Linked DNA regions of Homo sapiens: region 2 is linked to region 1. The links are contacts of gene promoters, found by promoter capture Hi-C in human tissues and cell types (Jung and others, 2019). All regions are on one chromosome and are shown on one strand. The core of a region is centred on a gene start or on the middle of the fragment in contact, and the rest is flanking DNA. Distances in the headings are between cores, read along the strand shown. Region 1 holds the start of BMP8B (bone morphogenetic protein 8b). Region 2 overlaps BMP8A (bone morphogenetic protein 8a).

Region 1 (6,836 bases), core at 2,367-4,866:
ACAAGAACCTGGGTCCTGCCTCCCAGCTCAGGGCTCTCCCCTCCCTGAGCACAGAGAGACCAGGGACAGAATCCAACCGCTCCATCACTGTCCTGCCCAAGAGAGCCCAGGTCTACAGGCTGATATGGATGACAGGCCAGGCAGGGCCCCGGCTCTGACCCCAGCCCTGGCCTCCCAGTGCAGGCTCTGAACATCAGGACGCAGGCTTGGCTTCCTAAAGCACCTGCTCTGCACGGAGACCTGAGCCATGGTGGGAGGCCTATGAGAGCCCCGCCCCCTGGGTCCCACAGGCTGCCATCAAGAGTTGGGCCCTACGGGCACCAGACCTGGCTATTCAGGAGTCAGATGAAGCTGATAGGAGAGGTGGAGCCGGCAGGAGCAGGTGTGGGAGCCTGCGTGTGGGCGGTGACACCACAGTGACCCTGCTATTAGATCCCGTGGTGGCCTCTGCCCACATGACTGTAATCTCAGCTACTCGGGAGGCTGAGGCAGGAGAAGGGCCACCAACCTCCAGGGGCCTCCAAACATGGAGAGCATCCTGGTATGTGTCTAATCCATGCCCCCCCACCGCCCCACCCAGCCTCAGTAATTACCAGTTAAAGCTACTCTAACTGAGAGAGTTCTACTAGTGCAGTTAGCACAGCAGAATAAAGAAGGCCTTTCTGACAGCTGGCTGCGCCCACCCACAGCCTGGGCTTCCACTAACAATGATCTGCTTGTTAATCTCGCAGCGCTGGAGGCCCCAAGTCTTCATGAAATGCACAAAGCTGGTGTGGGAAGAAGCTGGGATTTGAAATCCACAGCCGTGGATGTCACCCCGGATGTGCGGTGTGGCCCTGGGCTGGCTATTTAACCTCTCTGAGCCCATGAAACAGGGCTGGCAAAACAGTCTCACATGAGTTAAATGAGGAATTGTAAGGCTGTGAAAGTTCACATGCTACTTTTCATTCTAAAAACAGGTACAAACACTTTTTGATTGGCTTTTAGAATCCATTTCTAGGTTTTACATGTGTATAAGACATGTGGAGATGTTCCTGTCACCTCCGAACTAGGCCACAGCTGGGAGGGCCTGGGGCCAACAGTGCCCAGGTCCAGGTTCACCCTCTGAGGGGAGCAGCACAGGCTTTCTACTCCTGCCCCTCTACCAATCACACAACAACCCTGAGGACAGATCACCAGGCACCTCATTTTACAAGGAGCAACGAAGGCTGAGAGGGTGAGGAACTTTCCTAAGGTCACACAGAGGGGTAGGCCCTGCCCAATTCATAGCAATAGCCCCACCAGGCTGTGCATGCCTTGACCCAGGGGATGCCAGGGGAGGTCGGATGTGGGCTGGGTGGTGACGCATTCTGATGGGCGGCTCCCTGGGGACATTCTTGGACGACTCCATCCACAACTCTTCTTGGTCCTGAGCCCAGTGTCAGCCTGTCCTGATGACAGAGCCCCAGCCCCAGCTTCACAGATGGTCTCCTCTGTCCCACATCCCCACCCTGTCCTCTAACTACAAAGGCAGCATCCAGATCCCACCGGCTAGAGTCCTGTCCCTGGCACTGGGCGCTCAGTGATGGTGAATGGCTGCCTCCTGCTGCTCGCCTCCACCACCAGCTCTGGGTTGCGGGAAGCAGAGGCTTGGCCATGCCCTCTTCTGTCCTAGTGTAGGAAGCAAATGGCTGATGGCCCCACAAAACCTGCTGCGGCTCAGTCCCCTGTTTTCCTCAGCCCAGACTCCTCAGAAAGGTCTCTGCACCTTGAAAGCCTGACCTGACAACAGAAATGTCATCTCTTTGAGCCCTGGATGGACAGTCAGGCTTCCTGGGCCTGTCCTGGCTCAGCAGCGTAGAGGCTGCGCTGTCCTAGGCATGGCGCTGCCTCTCTGAGCCTCACTGTCCTCATCTGGGAGATGGGGATGAAGACCGTGGCTGTTATCAGGGTTGTCGGGAGGATGAAGAATTAATGATGCTGTCTGTGGAGGGAGGCTGATGGCCGGGGCCAGGGACCCTCTCCCTCCTCTCAGCCCCACAGCTCCCCGACTTTGGGCTGATCTGTGGTCCTTGGTTCCCCAGACCCCAGACTGTCACTAGCCACAGACAGGAGGCAAAGCAGATGGGTGACCTGACCAATAGTAACTACATGACCATAGACCAAAGAGTTTAGTACTGGAAAAAAAATCTCTGAGATCTTAGGGAATAAATAGCTCCAGGGTTTGATACAAGATATTTGCAGACAGGAAAAGCCGGGCTTTGCCTGGGAGAACAAAGTGGGTCCAGCTGCCCACTGGACCATTCCACAGGACTGGACACTCACCCCATACCAGATCACATCCCAGGTGTTGGGCCCAGGGTGACAAGGCAACAGTCCCTGCCCCAGCGAGCTGAGTTTGCTCCTTCCCCAGCCGCCCCCCTGACAGCCGCACCCCACCCAGGCTCCGCACAGAGAAGAGCCTGCTGTGGACTCAGGGCACGCGACTCAGCTCTGGTCACTCCGATGTGACCACAGGTTTCCACGCTGAACTTTGTCCCTCTCCTCAGTACTGCCCTTATCACAGTGACAGCATCCCGGCCTCTGTTTACTCACCTGTCTCCCCAGGACCAGGCTGTCTTCCCGGGGCAGCCCAGGTGGGCAAAGACATCACCTGATTCTTACTCCTGGGTGTGTTTGGGGCAGGGTGAAGGCAGCGCCTGGGAGTCCACAGTCCCCCACACTCTGCTCCTGACCACCCCGCAGCCCAGGGGGCCCCCATGACCCTTAGACCTTCCCTAACCACGGCGGTCCCACTCCCCTGTGGTTCGCGTCCACCGTCTGTGACTCCCCGTTCGGCCAGGGCCCGGCACAGCCCGCGGATGCGCGCCCCTCCCCTGCAGCCAGCTTACTCCGAGGGTCCCCGCGCGGGCGGCCGCACTCACCCATGTTAACGAAGCTCATGACCAGGTCGGCGCGGCCCAGGCGCCGCTCCGCGGGCGCGCCGTCCTCGTCGTCGTCGCCGGCCATGGCGTGGTACAGGTCCAGCATGAAGAGCGGCGCGGACGCGGGCAGCCGGGAGGCGGCGGGTGGCGCGCGGGGCCGGGGCCGCCCAGGCAGCCCGAGCACCGCCAGGATCTCGCGCTGCACGTCCCGGCGCTCGCGCGCGCCCAGACGTCGCTGGGGACAGCCGGGCGGGGGTCGCAGGCCGGGGCCGCCCCCGCCCAGCGCGCATAGCGCCAGGCCCAGGAGCCAGAGCGGGCCGGGGAGCGCGGTCATGGCAGGCCGGGGGCGCTCAGCTGGGGCGCTCAGCGGGCGCGCATCGGCTCCGCGGCCGACCCAGGGCCTGGGGACGCCCCGACGGCAAGGAGGCTGGGCTCGGCGGGCGGCGGGCGGCGGGGCGGGGCGGGACGGGCGGCGACCGCGGCCTCAGCGCGGTCCCTGGAGCGCCCGCCGCGCGACACCTGTCCTGGCTCCTGGACGAGAGGACGCGGACGCCACCGCCTCGAGGCCGGGGCTACTCTGCGGACTGGGACTCTCGGCCAATCCGTCTGTCGCCGCCGTACCCGCCAGTCCGGCTGTGGCCGCGGTCCGAGCAGCGCAGGGGCGATGGGCGAGCTCCTGCAGCCACCCGCTTGGTGCGGTTCCCGCGAGTCCCTGCCCTGCCCTGCCCAGCGGTCCGCGTCGCCCGCCCCCACCCCGGGACTGACCAATGGGGGGGCGGGGGCGGGGCCTGGGAGCGGGGGCCACGCCTGCGAGGGGGCCCGGGGCTGCGGCCGGTGTCGCGGGTGGGGAGACCCCGAGGTGCTACCTGGGCGTGGCGGGTGGGCAGGCGGCCCGGGCGAGGGGCTCGCAGCCTGGGCGTCAGCGTGGTCATGGCCGTCGTGGCTTCCGCCGCGGGCCTCGGCGCAGAGATCCTAGGGCCGCGGCGCCCTTCCGGTCCCGCCAGTGGTGCCACCCGGCCGCCCCGCCGTCGCGTGCGCGGGTCGCCATGGCATGCTGCAGGCGCCTCCTTCCCGGCACCTGCTCAGCTGCTCCTCCCCGCGCCCCCACCTGGCTCCCGCGTGAGCCTGGGCAGCGCCCCAGGCAGGCCGCCCCCGCCAGCCCTCGCTGCGCGGCGTGCGCCCCCTGCGCCCCCAGTACTGATCCAGCTTCGCGGGGGAGACGCGCACCCGCCTCCTGCCTTTAGCCGGGCCAGGAGCTCTGGGGCCCTTCTGGAGCACCCGGGAGCCACCTGTGCACTTCTCAGTCGCCACGGCCCCGGTGCAGGCCTGGCAGGAGAAGGATCCCCGCGGAAATGCCTCTACTAACTCAGCCCCTTTCTGCACTCTCTGCTCTTCTCTGGGCGCGCTCTCGCCTTACTTATTCCTGTGTGGTTCAGGCGCTGCGGAAGGAGAAGGCACCTAGACTGTACTGGGAAGGCTCCTGGAGTTGACCTGGAGCGCCAGGAAAGGTCAGTGGAGGAAAGTGCTCCAAGCAGAGGGAAGAGCTTGTGCCAAGGCCCTGAGACCCCGGCGGGGGAGCCTAATAATGGCAGGTAACAGTCAGCACTTGCCACGCGCGAGGCATGTTCTCAGTGTGTGTCTTGTGTCATTTCTGTGATGCTTGCACATCGTCAGGGGGTACCTACCACTGGAACCTCCTCTTTTAACAAATGAGGAAACTGAGGCACACAGCGGTTAAGGGACTTACGCTAGGTCACACAGCAGTAGAGCTGGGCTGGGGCAGGGGGCAGCTCCTCAAGTGGAACCTGGAGAGCCCACGGGGCAAATGGCGGAGGCTGGAGGGGCTGGCAAGGGAGGGACTGCAAAGGGCCTCACAGGGGCTAGACGAGGGCCCTGGGCACCAGTGATTATGGTGCCCCCCCATGTGGATTGAAGATTAAACCTCGAAGCAAGTGTATAATGCCCCCAAAAATCACATTTAGAAGTCATCACTTCAATAAAAATTTCTATATTAAATAAATTATTAATGTAAATGGTCATTTGCTGGCTCCTTAAGCACATGCCTAGTCTGTCTTTTACCGAAGAAGTAAATTTCTGCAAGGGTAAATAATAAAATGAAATAAAATAAATATTATTATTACACTATTCAGAGCACTAAAAGAACTACTTTTTCCTGATTACAGAGGTAACTTGCTTTTGTAGAAACTTTTGAAAATAGTTTCATAATCACTTTTGCACATCATCAGGGGGTACATACCATTGGAACCTCCTCTTTTAACAAATGAGGAAACTGAGGCACACAGCGATTAAGGAACTTATGCCAGGTCAGTACAGAAAAGTAAAAATATTACCCCCAACAAATTTTAAAATCACCCAAATCCCTGTTTCCAGAGATAATCACTGGTAATATTTGATGTCTCTTTTTCTTACATGTATGTGTATTTTTTCATACAAAAAACAGGATCTTATTTGCTTTATTAGCTTCACGTTATATTGCAGTATTTCACTATGCCATTAATTATTGCACACTTTTTTTACTGGCTTCGTGGTATTTTTTCATCATATTGTTATCATAATTTTTTTAATCAAGCTTATGTTATGGGATAATTATATTTTTATATTATATACTATGTTGTTATGAACAATCTTGTAGAATAATCTGTGCACATCCATGGTGATTTCTTTAGGATGAATTTCTAGAGATGGATTTTTTTTTTTTTTTTTTGAGATGGAGTCTTGCTCTGTCACCCAGGCTGGAGTGCAATGGTATGATCTTGGCTCACTGCAGCCTCCGCCTCAAGTGGTCTTTGTGCCTCAGCCCCCTGAGCAGCTGGGATTACAGGCGTGCACCACCATGCCTGGCTAATTTTTGTATTTTTAGTATACACAGGGTTTTGCCATGTTGGACAGGCTAGTCTTGAACTCCTGGGCTCAGGTGATCTGCCCACCCCAGCTTCCCAAAGTGCTGGGATTACAGGCGTCTAGAGATGGAATATTTGAATCAAAGAGCATATACACTTTTTATGGTTTTTGATACATATTATCTGTTGCCCCAATAGCACGAGGGTGCTTATTTTCTATCACCCTTACCAACACTAGATATAACTGTTAAATACATAAATAAATCAATCTCTGCTGGTTTGATAGATGAAAACCTCTCTGCTGTTGTAACTTGCATGTGGAGGGTTACTACACACTGCTCTCTTGTTTTTGAAACCCTGTCCTCCCCTGGCTTCAAGGACGCCTGCTCCCTTGCTGACCACTCCTCCCTGCCCACTTCTAAAACATGGATGTCTGCTGGGTCTGTCCACAGTCCTGTTCTCCCCTTAGACTTGACCTGGTGATGAGCTCATCCACTGAGGCTTCAGTGCCGCCATACAGTCACACCCAACTCCAAATATATTAGTAGGGCAGGCCTTCCTGCTAGATGCCAGAAGCTACATCCAATGACCGATAAGACATGACCAGAGCCAGAAGCCAAAACCCTGGCGCAGACACACGTCCCTCCCTCCCAAGGGCAGTTCAGTCTATTGATTCTACCTTCAAATGCCTCTTGAATCCCTGAGCCTGTGCACGCCCCTTTGCACTCAGGTGTTTCATGGAGCACCTCCTCCCCACTGGTCTCCTTATGTCTCATCTCACTACCCACCCCACCCAGCCCTCACTCATTCCGCAGAATGCATATTTCCAAATGAAAATCTGAATCCTTCCATGGCCTTTCATTGCTTACAGCAGAATTTCCCCAGGTGAGGATTCTGAGGGCTTTCCTGCAAAAGGGGTTCAGTACACACTGCGCTATATATTTCCCCCTTGGTAGAGCCCTCATGCACTTAGCACTTTGTAAGCTCTAGAAATCCTGCAGTAAAAATAAATAAATAAGTAAATTAAATAAATAAATAAATAAAAACCTGTTTAGCCTTAACTTGGCTTCTT
Region 2 (6,074 bases), core at 3,539-6,038, 270 kb before region 1:
TACTGACCCCCCTGGGATGTTACTGAGATCACTGGTCCTCATGGAAATGCCATTACAGGGACCGGTGAGCGTGAAGACCCAGGCGAGGGAGGTGCTGGCATGTAAGTGGATTTAAAGCATGGGATGGGACCAGGTCATCTAGGGAAGGAGGGTAGTGATGGAGAAGAAAGAGGGCCTGGCCCAGAGCCCTGGGACCTCCAACATCCAGAGACCTCACAAGGAGGGGCCACAGAGAGCCCACAGAGACCAGCCAGGGAGGGAGCAGGACACCTGGAGGATGAGGTGATCCAGACGCCAGAGTAAAGTGTTTCCAGAAGCAAGGGTTTGTCATTTGTGTCCTGCTGTGGGCACTGAAGGCAAGAACAGAGAAGTGACCAAGGGTTTTGCCATCACAGAGGTTGTTGATGACCTAAATATCCGTGGAGTGTGGGTCTGACTGAGGAGGTGGAGGGAGACAGGCAGTGGAGGCAGGAGACAGCTCTTTCCAGAACCTTTGCTGGGGAAGGGGAGCAGAGACATGGGCTGGGGCTGGAGAGAACCCGGGACAAGGCAGGTCCTTTCCAGGTGAGGAGACGCCTGCACGCTGCTGTGGTGATGCAGTGATTCTGTGCAGAGGGAAGAAAACTGCAAAATTCCGCACAAGTTGGAGCAGGGAGCTGGAGTGGGGGAGGTGGAGAGGGCGGGGGGATGCAGAGGACAAGACGGGGGGCCTCTTCAGAGCAGGGACCCTTCCTGATGGAGGTGAGGGATAGTGTCCCCACTGTCGCAGTGAGGGGTGAACCTGAGCTCTGGGAGGCTGTAGTGGGGCAGGCACTCACTCTCCGGGTTGTCACAGGATTAAAGGAGGGTGCTTGGCACAGAGTGATGCCCAGTGAAGGTGTTCATGAGCGTCGGTGTCACCCAGCGGCGCCTGCTCATTGGACACTTGGTGTCTTTAATGAGCTGGGGAAGCTGGGGGGAAGCTTGGGCGGGGTGGTTGGAGTTTGTGTCTGAGGCTCCACTGGGGCAGGAGGGGACCTAGCCTGTGCCCTACTCGCGGAGCCTGACCTCAGCTCTGTCCTGCGCCCGGGCCTGTGCGCTGGACACGGAGGACTGACTCGGGGCCCCCAGCCCAGGGCGGAGCCGGCCCCCTCCCTGTTGCGGGTCGCGGGCCTGGCCTAGAGCCTGCGCCTGGCCGGGGAGACCTGCTGGGAGGGAGTGCGTCAGGGCGCGGGCGCCCGCCCTGCTCTGTGACGCGCGGCCCGAGGCGCACGCAGGGCTCACACCACTTGTCCTGGCCTCCGACCCGGGCCGACTATGGCGGCGCTGCGGCTCCTGGCGTCAGTGCTCGGGCGCGGGGTCCCCGCCGGCGGCTCAGGGCTCGCGCTGTCCCAGGGCTGCGCCCGCTGCTTTGCCACCAGTCCCCGGCCCCGTGCCAAGTTCTACGCGGACCCGGTGGAGATGGTGAAGGACATCTCTGACGGGGCGACCGTCATGATCGGGGGCTTCGGGCTCTGCGGGATCCCCGAGAACCTGATCGCCGCGCTGCTCAGGACCCGCGTGAAAGACCTGCAGGTGGTCAGCAGCAACGTGGGCGTGGAGGACTTCGGCCTGGGCCTCCTGCTGGCCGCCAGGCAGGTCCGTCGCATCGTCTGTTCCTACGTGGGCGAGAACACCCTGTGCGAGAGCCAGTACCTGGCAGGAGAGCTGGAGCTGGAGCTCACGCCCCAGGGCACCCTGGCCGAGCGCATCCGCGCGGGGGGCGCCGGGGTGCCCGCCTTCTACACCCCCACGGGCTACGGGACCCTGGTCCAGGAAGGGGGCGCCCCCATCCGCTACACCCCGGACGGCCACCTGGCGCTCATGAGCCAGCCCCGAGAGGTGAGGGAGTTCAACGGCGACCACTTCCTTTTGGAGCGCGCCATCCGGGCAGACTTCGCCCTGGTGAAAGGGTGGAAGGCCGACCGGGCAGGAAACGTGGTCTTCAGGAGAAGCGCCCGCAATTTCAACGTGCCCATGTGCAAAGCTGCAGACGTCACGGCGGTGGAGGTGGGGGCTTCCCCCCAGAAGACATCCACGTTCCTAACATTTATGTAGGTCGCGTGATAAAGGGGCAGAAATACGAGAAACGAATTGAGCGCTTAACGATCCGGAAAGAGGAAGATGGAGACGCTGGAAAGGAAGAGGACGCCAGGACGCGCATCATCAGACGCGCAGCTCTGGAATTTGAGGACGGCATGTACGCCAATCTGGGCATAGGCATCCCCCTGCTGGCCAGCAACTTCATCAGTCCCAGCATGACTGTCCATCTTCACAGTGAGAACGGGATCCTGGGCCTGGGCCCGTTTCCCACGGAAGATGAGGTGGATGCCGACCTCATCAATGCAGGCAAGCAGACGGTCACGGTGCTTCCCGGGGGCTGCTTCTTCGCCAGCGACGACTCCTTCGCCATGATCCGAGGGGGACACATCCAACTAACCATGCTTGGAGCCATGCAGGTTTCCAAATACGGCGACCTGGCGAACTGGATGATCCCTGGCAAGAAGGTGAAAGGCATGGGCGGTGCCATGGACTTGGTGTCCAGTCAGAAGACCAGAGTGGTGGTCACCATGCAGCACTGCACAAAGGACAACACCCCCAAGATCATGGAGAAATGCACCATGCCGCTGACCGGGAAGCGGTGCGTGGACCGCATCATCACCGAGAAGGCCGTGTTTGACGTGCACAGGAAGAAAAGGCTGACGCTGAGGGAGCTCTGGGAGGGCCTGACGGTGGACGACATCAAAAAGAGCACGGGGTGTGCCTTTGCTGTGTCCCCGAACCTCAGGCCCATGCAGCAGGTGGTACCCTGACGGGACCTGGATCTGGGCGGGGTGGTGCGCTCCTCAGGGCGGATGCCACCGGGTTCCCCAGGGGAATACATGTCCCCAGCTCTGGGAGGGGTTTGCTACTGGCCTCCTACTTTCCTCCCTAGGTGGACAGTGCTCCTCTAGAGAGCTGCGACTTTAATTAAAAACAACAGGAAAACAGATCAGTTCCTCACTGTGTTTCTCGAGCACTGCAAGGCGCAGGTCTGCAGTGGTGAGGAATGGATGTCCGCTTTGCTCTGTGATGTTTACACAGAGCGTGCACAGCTCAGCGCATTCACAGCAAGATTTGATTCAAGCGCCTCCCTCGTACTTGAACCATGAAATGGAGATAAAAACTGACGAGGGAGAAAATCACTCAACCCAGAGTACACCTGAAGGGACATTTTACTACTGCAGTGAGAAATAGGCGAGCAAAGATGTGAGTTTGTGATTGGAAGACATGCTATCTTCATGAGCTTGTTTTTTCTTTTTCCTTCTCTTTCTTTTTTCTTTTTTTTTGAGGCAGGGTCTGGCTCTGTCACTCAGGCTGGAATGCAATGGAATGCAGTGATCTCACTGCAACCTCTGCCTCCTGGGCTCAAGCAATCCTAACTCAGCCTCCTGAGTAGCTGGGACTACAGGCGCACATCACAATGCCTGCTTATTTTTTTTTATTTTTTAAATTTATTTATAGAAATGGAGTTTCACCATGTTGCCCAGGCTGGTCTTGAACACTTGAGCTCAAGCGATCCACTTGCCTCAGCCTCCCAAAGTGCTGGGATTACAGACATGAGCCACTGAGTTGGGCCAATTAACCTTAGCTTACTGTAATTTTTTTTTCTTTTTTAGACAGAATCTCACTCTGTTATCTAGGCTAGAGTACAGTGGTCCAGTCTCAGCTCACTGCAACCCCTGCTTCCTGGGTTCAAGCAATTCTCATGTCTCAGCCTCTCAAGTAGCTGGGATTACAGGCATGTGCCACCATGCCTAGCTAATTTTTGTATATATATTTTTAACAGTAGAGATAGGGTTTCTCCATATTGGCCAGGCTGGTCTCAAACTCTGGGCCTCAGGTGATCCACCTGCCTTGGCCTCCCAAAGTACAGGCTTGAGCCATTGCACCCGGCCTTCTTGAACGTTTTTATCCGTTATCTGGTATTTCTTCTGGGGCCTTTGTTGTTAAATTTTGTTTCCCTGAAGCCTCCCCTCCTCCTCCCACATCTCTCCTCCTGGGACCTATGAGATGTTAAGCTTCTAGATGTCCGTAGAAGGAAAGCAGGACCATCTCCAAGGGAAGGGACCGGGTGATGGGAGAGACTGAGAGGGGAGAGGCTGCCGGTCCTGAAATCCACCAGGAAGCTTCCTCTATCTGTGTGTGGCCAAAGGCTACAGCCTAGGACAGGAGGAGTTCTAGAACCCTAACCAAGGGACTAGATGAGTTTTCTCAGCTTCATTTGAATTGTTCCTGCATCATTCACACCAGACACTTAGGCCCTCCTCTCTGGGATGGAGGCCCAAACTGGCCACTTGTGTGATGGTCCGTTGTAACCCAAGAGGCTGCGAGGCATTTCCTCCTGAATCTATAGTCTCAAAAACTAAAATTAAGATTGTGTGTGTGTGTGTGTGCGCATGCACGCGTGCACACGTGCTGTTGACAGCCAAGCCTGGCCTGGTGCATGCACTGCATAAGTGTAGCTCTGGGGGTTCCCAGGCCATTGGGGGCATGTGGTCAGAGTAGTAAGTTCTCACTGGTCAAGGACAGACTTTCCAGGGGCCCATTGGAGCCTCACCCTGCAGGAAAGGCCAGATCCTGGGAAGGAGAGCAGGGCAGGGAGAGTTGGCGCTCATGGAGGGCACAGACTGGGGGTGTGGAAAAGGGGCCAGGGACTATGGCTGGGGTTGGGGGCTTGAAATGAAATGTCATCTAGTGGGCAGTGGGGTGCCTTTTGGGGCTCCTGGAGAGGGGCACCTGATTTGCCCTGGGCGTCAGTTTCCCAGGAGCAGTGTGGAAAAGGCTGAGGTATCTAGAAGCGGACAAGTGACCCTCTGGGCCTCCAACTCCACCTTTCTGGAAGGGGCCTGCCCACAGCTGGGCAGCCTGAGAGCCCCCCACCTTGACTGCTTGGCCTTCCCTGCAGCCAGCTGGAGCCAGGGAGTCCTGCCTAAGAATGGGTGGGTAAGAAGCAGAGCTGATGGAGAAGGGAGGCTCTGGGCTCTGGAAGGAGAGGGCTGGGGATGGGGGAGCTTCTCCAGGCCTGCCAGATGCAGGGCTCTGAACCCAGACCCACTGTTAGTCCCCTTCACCACCCCCCATCTTGCCCAGCCACATCCAGCTGGGCCCTGCAGTTTGCTGGAAAAGTATATGACAATCCTGGCTCCGACCCACCTTGCTCTGGGACCTTGGACAGTTGCTGCTCTCTCTGGGCCTTAGTTTCTGCTTCTGTAAAATGGGAACCTGGGATTAGCTGCTTCCAAGGTTTCAAGGCTCGCCTGGCCTGTGAGACCTACAGAGGGGTTCCCAGCACCCAAGCCAGGCCTGGCTCAGAGGGGCTCTGTGAGGGTCTGTGGTGTAACTGATCTAATGCGACATTCTATCCTGTGTCTGGGAGACCCCCCATAAGACCCTTGAACACAGCTGCACAGAAGCAAATAGTGAGGAAAGCCTGCAGGACTGATGGCCTCTCAGGCCCCATAGCAGGCAGGGCTCCCCAGGGAGTCACAGGACAGAGCTGCAAGTGGAGCCAGGAGGGCTGCCCTGGGCCCCAGGCTGTCCCCATGGGTCAGCCAGTCTGCAGAGTGACACTCCAGTGCCCGGGCTGGTGACCACCACCACCCCACTCAGGCTGCTCTGTTCTCTCTCCGTTGTGACCTCACTTGTCTTTTCCTCTGTGCCCCAGCTCTGTTCCTTGTATTTCTGCTGCTTCCCCATAACCTTGACTCACCGTGACTCAAGCCCTGCCCAGTGGATTCTCTCTGGGCCTCCTTCCCATGTTAGCATCTGCAGCTCACAGCCTCCCTGTCTCAGCAGCTCTTGTCCATGCTCGTGAGAGGGAGGGAGCCTCTCCTGCCAGTGCATTTGTTTGTGGCGGATGATGTCACGGGTCAAAGGTTGGTCTCTGGATTCACTGGTTGTTCAGTCAAGTGGCCAAGGGACACCAGGGCTGAGGCACAGCTGCTTAAGGGCTGACCTTTGAGTGGGACTGAGGGTGGGGCAGGCAGTGTCCTTGACCTGTAGGGTGTACTGGA

The links. Contacts are between HindIII fragments. The study calls those that stand out against the background at their distance.
Region 2: a contact is called between a fragment that was not itself captured here and the fragment with the promoter of BMP8B in region 1, in 1 of the 25 tissues and cell types used here (aorta).

Annotation. Positions count from the first base shown.
Region 1 is chr1:39,785,249-39,792,084 of GRCh38, forward strand. BMP8B (bone morphogenetic protein 8b) reads right to left here and starts at 3,617. Exons shown (of 7, transcript NM_001720.5): 1 at 2,904-3,617. The coding sequence starts at 3,237. It overlaps LOC101929536 (a long non-coding RNA gene), which reads left to right and starts at 3,728. Exons shown (of 1, transcript NR_135805.1): 1 at 3,728-4,923. RefSeq lists a silencer at 3,569-4,168 and an enhancer at 3,723-4,224. The HindIII fragment of the contact is 10,857 bases long and covers 1-6,774 here.
Region 2 is chr1:39,513,660-39,519,733 of GRCh38, forward strand. All of the region lies in intron 3 of BMP8A (bone morphogenetic protein 8a), which reads left to right. It also overlaps the pseudogene OXCT2P1. Among named protein-coding and RNA genes, the nearest start is that of BMP8A, 25 kb to the left of the region's middle. RefSeq lists a silencer at 1,058-1,147. The HindIII fragment of the contact is 4,536 bases long and covers 2,521-6,074 here.